Linked DNA regions of Homo sapiens: all the other regions are linked to region 5. The links are contacts of gene promoters, found by promoter capture Hi-C in human tissues and cell types (Jung and others, 2019). All regions are on one chromosome and are shown on one strand. Each heading gives the region's core, a stretch centred on a gene start or on the middle of the fragment in contact. The rest is flanking DNA. Distances are from core to core; before and after follow the strand shown.

Region 1 (2,700 bases), core at 64-2,563, 280 kb before region 5:
TATTTGTAAACATCACAAGTAAGAATTGTTATTGTAGAAATCAGTTTTTTACTAATACTGTTAAATCACCCTTGATGAGTTGGTTTAAGTATAGCAGTTCTCCATTAATTGTAAATTGTAATTGTAAATTATCAATGAAATATTTTCTTGGTTTAATTTTTAGAATATTATTGCTAGCATATAGACATACAATAAACTGTTGTATATTCACCTTGCATTCTGCAACCCTGTGGAACTTACTAGTTCTATAAATATTTTTTGATTCCTTAGTATTTTTATATACATATAATCTTCTTTTTCAATCTGGATGCCTTTTATTGATTTTACCTAAATATCTGTAATAGAACCTTCAGTACAACGTTCAATAGAAGTGGTGAGAGAGGACACTCTTATCTTGTTCCTGATTTTAGGGGAAAATCATTCAGTCTTTCAACCTTAAGTATGATGTTGATGTAATTTTTCATTTTGATTCTGGATTGACTTCACATTTGAGAATCTTATGCACATAGCTCTCAAAAATAGTTGTTGATTGGCTCAATAAAATAAAAACTACTCTAGTGTTATAAGTAATAGTCCTTTAGGGATAAATGAATAAGTCAATAGAATCCATATTAATACACTGTATTATAATGTATGTCCATGGCAGCCACTGATCTAATCATGTGTTACAAAGATATCAACCACATATAATAAAACTTGCTGATTTTTAGTGAAAGTGATGGTTCTAGTCCCTACTGCAAACAAAAATGGTTTTCTACTTCATATACTGGAACGCTAGATAACTTAAATACACTGCCATCTCCTAGGGCTGTTTACGATATCCTTTGTAGTATTACAAATATTAATTCATTCCATCTTGTATTGATTTATTTATTTTAATTGCCAATGTCAGCAACTCATTTCTGGAATGATAATCTACATATAACACATTGATTTTTTTCCCCTCAATTCTATTGTTTGTAAGAATAGATGACAAAACCTATTTGCTATAAAAGTCATTAGAGTCTCATTGTACATTTCACTGTACTTAGTTATCTCATAATCCTAAGTTTTTTTCTCTTATAGTAATTAATATCAGAATATATTTGTCTTAAATTTTATATTTTTATAAAAAATAGTGAAACACTCTACTAAAACAGCCTACTAAAAAGCAATGAAAAAGACAAGTCAAAATTTCTCAGTATTTTCATGATAATCCATTAAGTCGCAAGATTATACTTTATCTAAGAAACACAATATAATCATGGTTCACAGTATTTTGCTGTATTTTAATATCTCAGATCCACAACCAAACCCAGTTCACTAAAGACCGAAAATTCCTGTCTCAAAGTCTGACAGTCCACTTGCCATACGGAAAGAATGGGTAGATCTGAATCTCTTTTGCATCCTTTAGTTTCTTTCCTGTTTCAAGCGCAAGATAGTCATTAAAAAAAAGTGTCATAAAAATAGAAAAAGGAGGCCGGGCGTGGTGGCTCACGCCTGTAATCCCAGCACTTTGGGAGGCCGAGGCGGGCGGATCACGAGGTCAGGAGATCGAGACCATCCCGGCTAAAACGGTGAAACCCCGTCTCTACTAAAAATACAAAAAAAAATTAGCCGGGCGTAGTGGCGGGCACCTGTAGTCCCAGCTACTTGGGAGGCTGAGGCAGGAGAATGGCGTGAACCCGGGAGGCGGAGCTTGCAGTGAGCCGAGATCCCGCCACTGCACTCCAGCCTGGGCGACAGAGTGAGACTCCGTCTCAAAAAAAAAAAAAAAAAAAAAAAAAAAAAAGGAGAAAACATCCTTAACTTCTCCAATATAAATCACTTTGGGAATCAGGCCCTTAGGGCAAATGGTACTCTATAATAAAGCAAGAGAGGCTGGGCCGCTCCATACATAATCTACCCCCTACACTACATGGTTAACAAGACATATTCAATGAGCCTTGCCAAGATATCTAAAAGGATTTCTCTCAGACCTTTAAGAATTTCATAAAAATATGTGTATCTTGTTTGTTAGCCATTTCTATATGATATGTGAAAAGTTGACATAATTTTTAAAAATTTGGATTACTCCCATTTAAAAGATTTGCTTATATAGCCATTATATACAGTTATTCTTAAAATTAGAGAACATAAGCTATTAGTTTAGATCATTCTTATAATATCCAAATATTGGCTATCTTTGTCTATAAAGTAGCATTTATCATTTAGACAGAGAAAATTATTTAATTTGACAAGTGGTATCGTAGCAAAGTAACCATTATCATTTCTTTTAAAGGTCTCTTTAGCAGATACCAAGCTAATCTGCATAAAAATATATTGAATTCTACTGGTGAAATTTAATGATCATTGTAATAAAATATCATGTGTTATTAAAAGCTTAGTAAGTAATGTACTCTATTTATTGAAGCATTATTTAAGGCACAGTTAAAATAATCTTGTGTGCTTGAGCAATTCTTATGAAAAGTAGAAAATAAGAAGTTCTTACCAAGTTTGCAATGATATAATGGTAGCCTTTAACATGCTTTCCAACACTTACAATCTGTGAAGATATAAGCAAATAAGAGAAAATCAATTTTAATTCACTGAAATATTATTTTAAAATTATTATCTATTTTAGCATAATTCCATGTAGAATCATGATGGGAAAATGATAGTTTTTTAAAAAATAAAAGTCACGTACTATAGTTAGAAGAATTGATAAGCCATATTCAGAAT
Region 2 (2,700 bases), core at 174-2,673, 410 kb before region 5:
ACAGTGCCAGGTATTGAAGATCCTGTTTTTAGAGCAGATGGGCGACTATCTCCTAGGTCCTTAGAGGTGGGGCAGATTGTAGAAGGAAAAAGCCAAGTTTTGACCAATAATTCTTTCACTTGTCCTGCAACATAGGGTACTAAGAAGCAGCATATTGGGGCTGGTTTAATGATGTGTGTAAATCACTTTGCTTCAGTTTTTTATATTGTGGCTTATAAACATGGTACCTCATGAATATTTTTAGTCACCTCTAGAGGAAAGCTGAATGCTTGCCCAAGCTATTGGATAATTTGAATTACATAGGAATGTTAGGCCAGAGTATTAATTAAATGTGATCCTCTAAAATTATTTAAGTGTTCTAGGCTCAGCATGGTGGCTCACACCTGTAATCCTAGCACTTTAGGAGGCTAAGGCAGGAGGATCACCTGAGGCAAAAAGTTCAAGACCAGCCTGGACAACATAGCAAGACCTTGTCTATATAAAAGCTTTAAAAATTAGTAGTACATGGTGGTGCACCTGCCTTGCTACTCAGGAAGCTGAGGCGGGAAGATCACTGGGGCTCAGGAGTTTGAGGGTGCAATGAATTATGATTGAGCCACTGTACTCCAGTCTGGGGAACAGAGTGAGACCCTGTCTCTAAAAATAAAATAAAATTATAAGCATTCTACAGTGTTCACTAAACTGCCTTGGAATCAGATGTTAAAACATTTCATTTTCTTTTATTTATTAGATAATATTTGATTTACACAAAAATAATATAGCTGGAGTGTTCTAATAAAGCAGCTCTCTGCCCACTCAAAAAAAAAAAAAAGTTCTAATTTGACAATTCTGTAGTATTAGTAAGTGCCGTCTTGGCCAATTTTTAGCTCCTAACATGACATGGCTGAATGTGGAGTTGCAAAGAGATGTCCGCAATTGATTCTTGAGAGCTCTCATGGGCAGGTTCCACCACACTCCTAATGTAAGTATATATGTTATGAAGCATAATAATAAAGACCCATGGGACCTATCCCTCAACTTAGGAACTAAACAATTCCAATATTATTGTGACATTTTTGTTTCCTTTTGTCAAAGTTATTTAAATGTTTTGCCTTTGATGTGGCAAATACATAATAGTGCTTAATGTGCACCAGGAACTGTTCTCTTTGTTTGACTAAGTCCTTTAATCCTTATAGGATTTCTATGAAGTAATGTTATTATCATTTTACAAATAAAATTACGCATAGGGAAGTTAAGTAACTGAGGCCACACAGCTAGGAATTGCCAGAGCCAGGACTCTAACCCGGGTGGTCTGACTCCAGAATCTGTGCTCATAACTACTACACACACTACCTCTTTTGATGTTTCTATTTATAGATAAACTTTGCTTATATTATTTGCTTATATTCTAGAGGATAAAGGTTTACATTTGACTGTAAGAGGAGTATATCTCTAGGGCAGTATCAAGAGTGCTATTGTTGGTTATACATTCCAATTTTGTGGATTTCAATTTTATTATTAAATTTCTCTTGAGAAATTTTCAAAGTCTATAAGTCTACTTTAGAAATAGTTGGCTTGCAGTCTTCTTTTCTTTTGTTTTTGCATACGTTGCCCTTTTTTGTGGGTATGTGAAATTGACAGTGATTTCTTGAGAGTTCATTTCAGCTGTTTTGAATTTTTAGTTTTCTGACCTCTATTTCAGCAGCAAGTGGCAGTTCAGGAGATGGTTATTCCACATGAGTGATTGGAAACAAAGATGTGGTGATGGGCATATATTTGTTGATGTTATTAGACACGTACAAAGTCAGCTGAAGAAAGAATACCAAGAGCTTGAAAAGGAAAAATGCATAAAGGTTTAATGCAATGGTGATAAGAAATGCTTTGTTATTAAGTTTAAAAATAAGGTATTAGCATCCACTTTTCAGTCTAAAAGAGAAAAGATGATAGAAAAGATGTGCATTTTCTTATTCAATTTAGCCTTGCTTAATTGCTATATTTTTGCTTCAGTAGAAGATACTATTTGTATTGTGAATTAGAGTAGAACTATTTTTCACACTAATGAAAAGTTTAAATTGGCAGACAGAGTAAGAGAAAAGAAACCATGTGTTAAAAGGTAAACTGAGACATGATAACTTTTAACAAGTTTATTTGAGCAAACAGTGATTCTTGAATCAGGCAGCTCCAAACCAGAAGTGGTTTGGGGGCTCTGCAGTGGAAACACAAAGCGGGGAGGCTTTATAGGTCTAACAGAAGTAAAACAAAGTAAATATTTGATTGGTTACAGTTATAAGATTGTCTAATTTGACCTATCCTGCTGGAAGGTTACATAAGTTAGTTGCATAAGTTAGCTGACAGCTTCTGATTGCTTAGTCTTAAGTTTCTTTTTTAAAAAATATCGATATTTACCAAAAAAATAGCCCAAGTTAAGTGTTGCATATGTTTGCAAATGAAGCAAGGTTAAAGTCTCTTATGAGGCCTAACTGGTTTTGTCTGCTTAGGGATTCTTCAGGCCAGGTCTCCGGTCTAATTTACTTTAACAGGAGGTAGAGGAAATGTAACCGATTGAAAGAATTTTATCTGGACCTTCCACATAGGTAAGAGTCTCCTTTTGAAAATCTTTTACTAAATGACATCTCAAAACTTACCTTAGCAACACTTTTTTGTTGTTGTTGTTGTTTGAGACAAAGTCTCACTGTTTCCCCCAGGTTGGGGTGCAGTGGC
Region 3 (2,700 bases), core at 40-2,539, 420 kb after region 5:
ATATGGGAAATAATATATCATTTATAAGAATTATTATTTTCAGCATTTGTTGATATTATGGTTTGGTGAAAATTATTACGTAGACATTTTCTTTTCATTCCAGTATATTTTTTTGAAAATTTCTGTTGTACTTTGAGATATTTAATATATATGCTTTACCTTTTTTAATGTGTAAAAAACTTTAGATGTCTCATGTCATTAATTGAATTTTGAATATTCCAATGTAATTTCCCATAGACTATACATTTAAACTGCATATTTTAAATACTGAGTTTTCACTGCTACTTAGTGGTTTTAAGTATTTTTAGATAATATCTTTTGGTTTCTTAGCTTGAAGAATGAGGATATGGCTCTTTTTCACATCCCTGCACTACCTTATACACTCACACATATGCACACAAGAAGAACTGATAAATTACTTTATGTATTTGACTACAAAGAAACCAGTGTGTGTGTGTACATGTGTGTGTTTGAAATATCTCTCCTGAAATCTTTACTCCTCTTGTTCCAGTCTAAACTGGATTTTTCTCTAGTCTCCTCTTTACACCCTTTTGTGTTAAATGCCCTGATTCCTGGGTCCTTCCTAAATCTATTCCTTCGTTTTTTATGAAATATATACTTCAACAATGTTCTATAGATACTCTGTAACACAGAAAAAGGTGCACAGAGAAAGTTAATTTAAGCCCTTGCATGTTTGAAAATATTTTTATCCTTGCATTTAGTTTGCAGTGAGATTCATAGACTTCCAGGAGAGAAAAGACTTTCCCTCAGAAACTGAATCCATTGTTCAGTTCTTTTTTAGTTTCCAGTGTTGCTTGTTAGAAGTAAGAAGTCATTTTTATTCCTTTGTATAAGCCCTTTGTATGTAACCCATTTTTTTCCTTTCCAGATGCTCTTAGGACTTTTCCCAAATGTCCTGAAATTGTATAGTTATGAAGAGTAGTCATGAGTATTGATGAATCTGAGTCACATTGTGGATACTCAGTGGACCCTTTTTTTTTGTGGAAAATCTTATCCTTCTATTCTGGAAAAATTTCTTAAGTGATGCTTTCATAATATCCTCCCCATCATTGTCTCTCTCAGTGGAACTCATTAGTTGGCCTGTTAGACTGAGCTTTTGTTGTTGTTGTTGTTGTTAACCTTTTAGAATTCTATTATTTTAAAATTATTTTTTTCACCTGCAAAATTTTCTATTCATTGCTTTTCAACATTTCAATCATTTGTTTTTATTTTTGTCAAAAGATTTCACATTTCTAAAAATTTGTATTCTCTGAATACTCTCATATCATAAATGTAATATAGTATTTTTAGATTTGAAGATGAGAATTATAATTTTATATGAGTGTTTTTTATTCCCCATATGATCTCTGATGTTTTTATTTGTTCTTTTTTCTATCTTTGGATTTTCATGTGCATTTTTTTGTGTTTTGTTTTTAAGGAGCTTCTCAAATACCTGGTGATCCTTGGCTGTCCAATCAAAATAAGTAGGTCCTAACATTCTAATAGGAAGATTTATGTATGTGGTAATGGCTTGTTTAATCATGAATTTGTATTTAGGTAGGGTACAAGGTTTTTGTTGTTTTTTTTTTACCTTTTATTTTAGGTTTAGGGGTACATGGGCAGGATTGTTGTGTAGGTAAACTTCACGTTGCGGGGAATTTGTAGTTCTCTATTCTACAGGGCAGTTTCCTCAGAAAGAAATCCTCCAGTCATCTGCCAACAACAGAAAAGCATAGAGGCCAGAGTAGTGGGAGGCAGGCAGCCATGGGGGCAAGAGGACCTCCATTCAGTACACCCTCGATCGCCTGGTTCCATGTGTCCAGGGGGGTGCCTCATCTTTGACCTTAGCTGGTCAAGATGTCTCCAATTCACAGTCTCTGTAATTCAACATCTTCAGAGAATAATCCTTTTTTTTTTTTTTTTTTCCTGCAGAGCTCAAGAAAGGGCAATTGACTAGTTTGTTGGACTTGGGGAGAACATCAGGGCAGCTACCTGCTCCTAAAGACACTTTCAACAAATCTTTTGTTTTCTGTCCCACTTCACACTCTGGCTTTCAGAGATAATTTGCGACTCCAATTTTTGACACTTTCCATGGTTCTGTACCATAAATCATGATTTTTTTAAATTGTCATTACCCAAGCTGTCATGTTCTGGATTTTTCATGTATACACTCAGTTACTATTCATCTGTATGCTTTCTATATTCCAAAAATAACATTTTATGTACTAAAATCTGTTTTCTTTGATTTTTTGCTTATATATATTCAAAAATAACTTAATGTCACTTTAGTTGGGTTTTCAGAGAGACCAGAAATGCCTGTTGCCTATGCACCATTTATAAAATTGAAAATCTTCACTTAGTTTCCAGTAATATATTTTATATTTGTTGTATTCTATTAAAAGTGCTCTTGTGAAGTCACCAATAACCACTGTTGTGCCAGAAACAATGTAATCCTTCCAGTGACATTGATCTTGATGACCACAAATCACTTAAAAAATGTCACTCCCTGACTTCTCTGTCTTTAAGAACCTCCCATTCTCTGACCCTTTCTTAGTCTCAAATTGTTCTCAATCTCCTTGTACTCTAGTGTTTTTTTGCCTTCCTGCCAGTCTTGGTGTCCACTGAGATTCTGATTTTATTCGATCCTAATCTTATCCTACATAATGAGTTATTCTATTTCTCTGATTATTTTCACTACCA
Region 4 (2,700 bases), core at 194-2,693, 310 kb after region 5:
CTGCAAGATGGCTTAAATCTAGTGCTTATGACTACTTAACTGTTTCACTGTTGTGATACTAATATCAGGTCTCTGTCAAACTCGATTAAATGTGTATGACATTCATTCAACATCATTGATTGAGCATCTTCTATGTATAGGGATGGCATTAATCACTGTGGGTAAAACATGGCTTCTGTCATCTCAAAACTTATGACTTACTAGGAAACAGAGACAAATATATCAAGGCACACAGGACAATGGCAGATGCTATGGGAAAGAAAGATAAGAAAGACAAAGGTGCAATGAGGGCAGAAAAGAAGGGCATTTAAATTAGACTGGAAGAGCCAGAAACACTTCTCAGAAGTAATTATTGAGTTTTATCATGTCTAAAAAATATAATTTGTTTCAATGAGGGCATGATGAGAGGTTACCACTTTAAGCAGAACATACAGTTTTGTCTTCTATTAGCATAGCCAATTAAGAATTGATGGATTGAATACATTTTGAATATATTTTAATCTATGTGGTAAAAAGTATTATTATAAGCTACTCCACTGAATATTTTATATTATTGAGTCAAAATAAATATGTAGCTGGACATCACATGGCCATTGTCTGGGAGCTGAACTGACACTAAAGCTGAGACTTTTAATATTGTTCTTGAGCTGACTTTAGCCTCTATTAGAGACTCAGCAAGCAAAGTGAATTGACATGGACCCTAGGAGATAAGGATGGAAGTGCCATAATTCATACTTATCTTTTCTGACCATATCCATTGTTCTTCCCTAGATCTTGGTCATTTTCTATAGTCTGTTTTCAGGAGGTGAGCTTGAAATATTAATTGTCTGAGGTAGAGAGACATAAGGAGAGATGGCAAATGCTGCTTAAAGAGAGAATTGAATAACTGCAGAGCTCTTCTTTTGCTTCATGGAATACAAATGCCATTCATCTTTACATTTAATACATTCACTCATCAAACATTTATGGAATATCTACTATGTGGTAAAATTCTCTGCTGGGATTCACAGATGAATCAGACTTACTTTATACCTCACTGAAACTCATGACTTAGAAGAGACTGACCTGTAGGCACATAAATGAGTGGAACAGACTGGAATTGGCCTATTGATTAATGCATGCATGGGCCAGATGAGCAGAAGGACACAAAGAAGACCTGGCTTCCAGCAGGAAATGATGACTGAGCTGCTTCTAGAAAAGCTAGAAAGTAAATGTGCAACAGCCTAATGAGGACATTTCAGGCAGTGGCAAAGCATGAGGTGTGTGGCAGACTTGGTTATAGGGTTTGTGTAAGACTTGGGTGGTGTTGCATAAAAAGAGCTAGTAGTAGCAGCAGAGTCTAGAAAGGCATAAGGAGGCTGACATCACACTTAGAGAAGAGCTTAGTCTTATTATAGAAGATGAAAGGGGTCATTAAAATGATAACAGCTTTTTTGAATATAGCTTTGTACATGTATCCATGGCGGGATTATTTGCAACAGTAAACAGGTAGAAACAACTCAAATGTCCATCAGTTGATTAATGGATAAACAAAATGTGATGTGTGCATGCAACAAAACATGGTGTGTGCACTGTGGGTGAGTGTGCACATGCACACATACACATATGCACAGTGGAATATTTCTGTCACAAAAACATGGATGAAGAATGAAAACAGTAGGCTAAGTGAAAGAAGCTAAATTCAATGGCCACATATTGTATGATTTCATTTACATAAAAATCTAAAGTATACAAAGCAGATTGGTAGTTACCAGTGACTGAGAGAAGAAAGAACAATGAAGTCCTGTGTAATGAGTACATAGTTTACTTTAGGATGAGGATGTTCTTGAAGTAGGTATTGGTGATGATTACACAACATTGTGAATGTATTAAATGCCACCAAAGTTTACATTTTCAAATTGTTAAAATCATAAATGTTATATTATGGGTATTTTATCATAATGGAAAAAAATAAATACATTAACAGCTTAAAACTAGGGAACATAACAGGAATAGTGGTACCAAAGAACCACAAAATGACTGGCGAACAGTCACTTTGTTAGAAGCATCACACAGTTGCATATGCAGGATTCTGGGGGAGATGCCTGATTTGCAAAGCTGACCAGCAAAATGTTTCTAATGGGACCTCTCCCAGAACATGGAGTTCATTTTTATCCCCTTTGTATTATTTGCCCTTTATTATTACAGCCATGCAGATACCTCTTTGAATATGGGAGCTATGTCTATTATTTTGGCACTAAAGGTAATGCTAGAATCACAGTAGACATTTAAGAAAGTGACTTCATGATTGGGTTTTAGTGTTAATGTGACCTTAAAATCAGTATAGTGTAAACCCCTAAGAGGACAATTTCCTTACATGGGCCTTCCCCATTCTCTTAATAGGCTATTCTTCATTTTCCAATTAAATCGTGTTTACTTTCCTTTTCAAACTACTAAACAGTATACCTTTGTAGCTTGCATCATAGTTTGCTTTTTCTTCAGGGTGAATACTTTGAATAGTAATTTCTTTCATGTTGTCTGAATTCTATTCCAATTGTAAAAGAATTTATATAACCTGGGTGAACCATGCTAACCTAATGTTATCAACATATATCAATCTAGTGAGTTGATCAAATACATATTAACCTTGGATTTTAAAATCAGAAAATTAAGGCTCAAGGTAATTAAGTGGCATGGCATAAATAATAGAGGTCAGAGCCT
Region 5 (2,700 bases), core at 5-2,504:
GTAAAGGTGGAAATAGGGCTATGGGCTGAGAACGCATGGGTGGGCTGCCCTGGGTGTATTCCAACGGAACCTGCACTAAAGAGGAAGTCTTTTTGCAAAGGAGAGAAAGGAAGAGGAGGGAAACAGAGGGGAAGGGAACTGCTGAAGGTTTCCCTGAATTGCTTATCAGCAACTCATTTAACTCACTTTCGGATATCTGCTACAACCAGCCACATGCACACCCCATCGGAGCACACCTTACCTATTTGCACGCTGCTCGGAAAGGCTCCCATGGCGAGTCCCCAAAATCCAGAAAATAACAAGACAATCTGTCTGGAAATAATCCTCATCTTCTTTTCTCCTCTCCCTGGCGCGCGCTCTCTCTCTTTCTCTCGCACTCTTCCTAAAGGCTGTTCAGAGAAGCATTGAAGACGATGGCGCTAAAATTAAAATCAACCAAAAAAAAAAAAAAAAAAAGAAAAGAAAGAAAAGAAAGAAAAAAAAGGAAAGAGGTTTCGGTGGTTTAAGATTATGACTAGTTCTCCTTAGCAATCCATCGCGAGCCGCCAGATTTTTCCCGCAGTCTCCATAGCCCTGGGAGAGGTTTTCTGTCCGGCTGCAAATGTTGCACATGCAAAAGATGGTGGTGGAGCGTCTAGTGGCTGCTCGCAGGGATGAGACATGCGCTCTATCTTTGCCTCACTCGCACTCGCGCTCGCCCCTTGCTTTCTCACATACACACAAACACTGGCGCCGCGGCCGCCACACGCGCTCTCCAGCTCGCATCAGCCGACATCCCCCAGCAAGCCTGCACCAGCCCGGAGCATCGCTGCCCTCCTGGCGTCCCCTCCTCGAGCGCGCACTCCCTCCGCACGCCCCTCGCCCACCGCTCGGCTGGCTTCACCCCCTGGGTGCTCACCGGAGCGCCCCAGTCTCCCGGACGCTCCGGAGCCAGTCTGGTGTCAGGTTTTCCCTTCTGACCACTCGCTGACTCCCTCCTCTTTTCTTCCTCGGTTCGCAGAGGGACCGACTCTGGGGATGGGCACCCCCAGCGCCCCTCTCTTGGTTTTCCTGGCACCTCTGCTTCTCGGCTGCGCTAGGCAGAAAATCCGCCCACGGGCCAGGTCTGCAAGCCCCAATCGGGGGCTCCGGGGGGTTAGTACCTCCCCATGCCCCCAGGCCCCTGCCGCATCCTTGCAGGTTCGTGAGGAGGACGGGCTGCCTCCCTCTCCTACAGTCCTGGCTTCCCTCTCAGCCTAGCCCTCTTCTGCCACTGGGCTGCGCGCGGGGGACTCCGGTCCTCGCTGCAGCAAAGATTTCTCACCAGCAAACAGCCCGGGAATCTGGAGAGCCTGACAAGGGAATGGATGAGGTGAAAGGGTTCAGAGAGGGATGGGAGGAGAAAAGACAGGCAAAGGGCAGCCCCTGGCGGGTTTAAGAGGCCAGGACCAGGATGAAAGAATTGGAGGAGGTAAGGATGGGGAAGAGAGCCAGAGAAGTTGAAACATCCTGGGAAGGGGAGGAGGGGGTAAAAGGTTATTTTAAATAACTGACGAAGTTTAGGGTACTGAACGGGATGGGGAAAAGACTGAGAAATGAAAATTGAAAGAGGCCTCTAACATTCTCTTGGAAAGGCATGAAGCAGGGATAGGAATAAGAACTGCGTGAAGTGTAAAGTAGGAAAAGTGATTAAAGATTCGATTGCTTTCTATACAGTCACCCATTCCGGAGGACTCTTTCCTTCTGTGCTGTGGCCCATTGCAGGAGCAGGAGGGACACAGCGCAAAGGCTGATGAAGGACCAGAGGGGCAGTGCTTGGGGCAGTGGGCACAGGTGTCTGACAGGAAGATAGTGTTTCGTGCACATCTCCTCTTGTCTGGGACTCTGGAATGCTCACTCTGCTCCACGCCACCTCCAGGTAGACTTAAGCACTTCAGTGATGATGTCAATAGTTGTTTTGACTGGGTAGAAGTGAAAATGAATTATCCTAGAAAGTTTTGGGGTTACAGTCTCACTTGCTCTCCAGAGTCACCTTTAAGATTGTCCTTTCATCTGCCTGTCCTGGACTGAGCTTGAACCACACTCAGAAGCAGTCACTGTGGTAGCCGTGAGTGACCGGTTTCTGATTTCCTCTGTATGGTTTGAGATTTCCTGATCTAGTTAGTAAATACAATCTCCTGTTCCAATAAGCTGTGTGAGAGAATCATTAGAAGGAGAGGTTCTCCTTAAACGTTAGGGAACCTAGGGTGATGTCTGCCATTAAATTTTTAAAAAGAATATAGCAAATGCCTAGGTTTGCCTGATATAATATTTGAGACTACAATGCTTAAAGTGGAATTCTTGCAAGGGACTTACAGAAAGCCTGGTAACGGCTTTTTGAAATATACATTACCTTAACTCTTTCAAAATACTTTATTTGGTGTCACTGATTACCTGTATTTGTAGTTTGTAGATGACATTTTAAAATCCCTGCTAAAACTTGAGTGCTTTTCTATTTCCTAAGTTTTGAATTTTATTTTTAAAATTGCATCTTTAAAATAAGTGTCTGCTTTCCCGTTACATTTCACCACAGATTGTTATGAAAAAAAAAACCTAATTGTAACTGTATTTTACAAATCATACATTTGTCATTTTAGTTTGTGAAGTTTTAGTCTTGCAAGTCAAGTGAAATTTGAAGCATTTTTCCTTTTTTTATTTTTCTGTGTTAAAAAACAAGGCTGT

Evidence for each region. The method cuts DNA at HindIII sites, captures the fragments that hold promoters and counts their contacts. A contact is called where the count stands out against the background at its distance.
Region 1: a fragment that was not itself captured here is called in contact with the fragment with the promoter of GRIA4 in region 5 in 2 of the 25 tissues and cell types used here (dorsolateral prefrontal cortex and hippocampus).
Region 2: a fragment that was not itself captured here is called in contact with the fragment with the promoter of GRIA4 in region 5 in 2 of the 25 tissues and cell types used here (H1 embryonic stem cells and mesenchymal stem cells).
Region 3: a contact is called between a fragment that was not itself captured here and the fragment with the promoter of GRIA4 in region 5, in 2 of the 25 tissues and cell types used here (IMR-90 fibroblasts and hippocampus).
Region 4: a fragment that was not itself captured here is called in contact with the fragment with the promoter of GRIA4 in region 5 in 2 of the 25 tissues and cell types used here (IMR-90 fibroblasts and aorta).

Annotation. Positions count from the first base shown.
Region 1 is chr11:105,887,343-105,890,042 of GRCh38, reverse strand. GRIA4 (glutamate ionotropic receptor AMPA type subunit 4) reads right to left here. Exons shown (of 17, transcript NM_000829.4): 6 at 2,471-2,524. Among named protein-coding and RNA genes, the nearest start is that of MSANTD4, 130 kb to the left of the region's middle. The HindIII fragment of the contact is 7,114 bases long and covers 1-2,700 here.
Region 2 is chr11:106,013,819-106,016,518 of GRCh38, reverse strand. All of the region lies in intron 1 of MSANTD4 (Myb/SANT DNA binding domain containing 4 with coiled-coils), which reads left to right. Among named protein-coding and RNA genes, the nearest start is that of MSANTD4, 7.1 kb to the left of the region's middle. The HindIII fragment of the contact is 9,647 bases long and covers 1-2,700 here.
Region 3 is chr11:105,189,989-105,192,688 of GRCh38, reverse strand. The region is part of intron 4 of LOC105369468 (a long non-coding RNA gene); the gene reads left to right. Among named protein-coding and RNA genes, the nearest start is that of CARD18, 52 kb to the right of the region's middle. The HindIII fragment of the contact is 7,007 bases long and covers 1-2,700 here.
Region 4 is chr11:105,300,733-105,303,432 of GRCh38, reverse strand. The region is part of intron 2 of LOC105369468 (a long non-coding RNA gene); the gene reads left to right. Among named protein-coding and RNA genes, the nearest start is that of CARD18, 160 kb to the right of the region's middle. The HindIII fragment of the contact is 4,413 bases long and covers 1-2,700 here.
Region 5 is chr11:105,608,627-105,611,326 of GRCh38, reverse strand. GRIA4 (glutamate ionotropic receptor AMPA type subunit 4) reads right to left here and starts at 1,254. Exons shown (of 17, transcript NM_000829.4): 1 at 899-1,254; 2 at 242-419. The coding sequence starts at 329. RefSeq lists a silencer at 78-278. The HindIII fragment of the contact is 8,669 bases long and covers 1-2,700 here.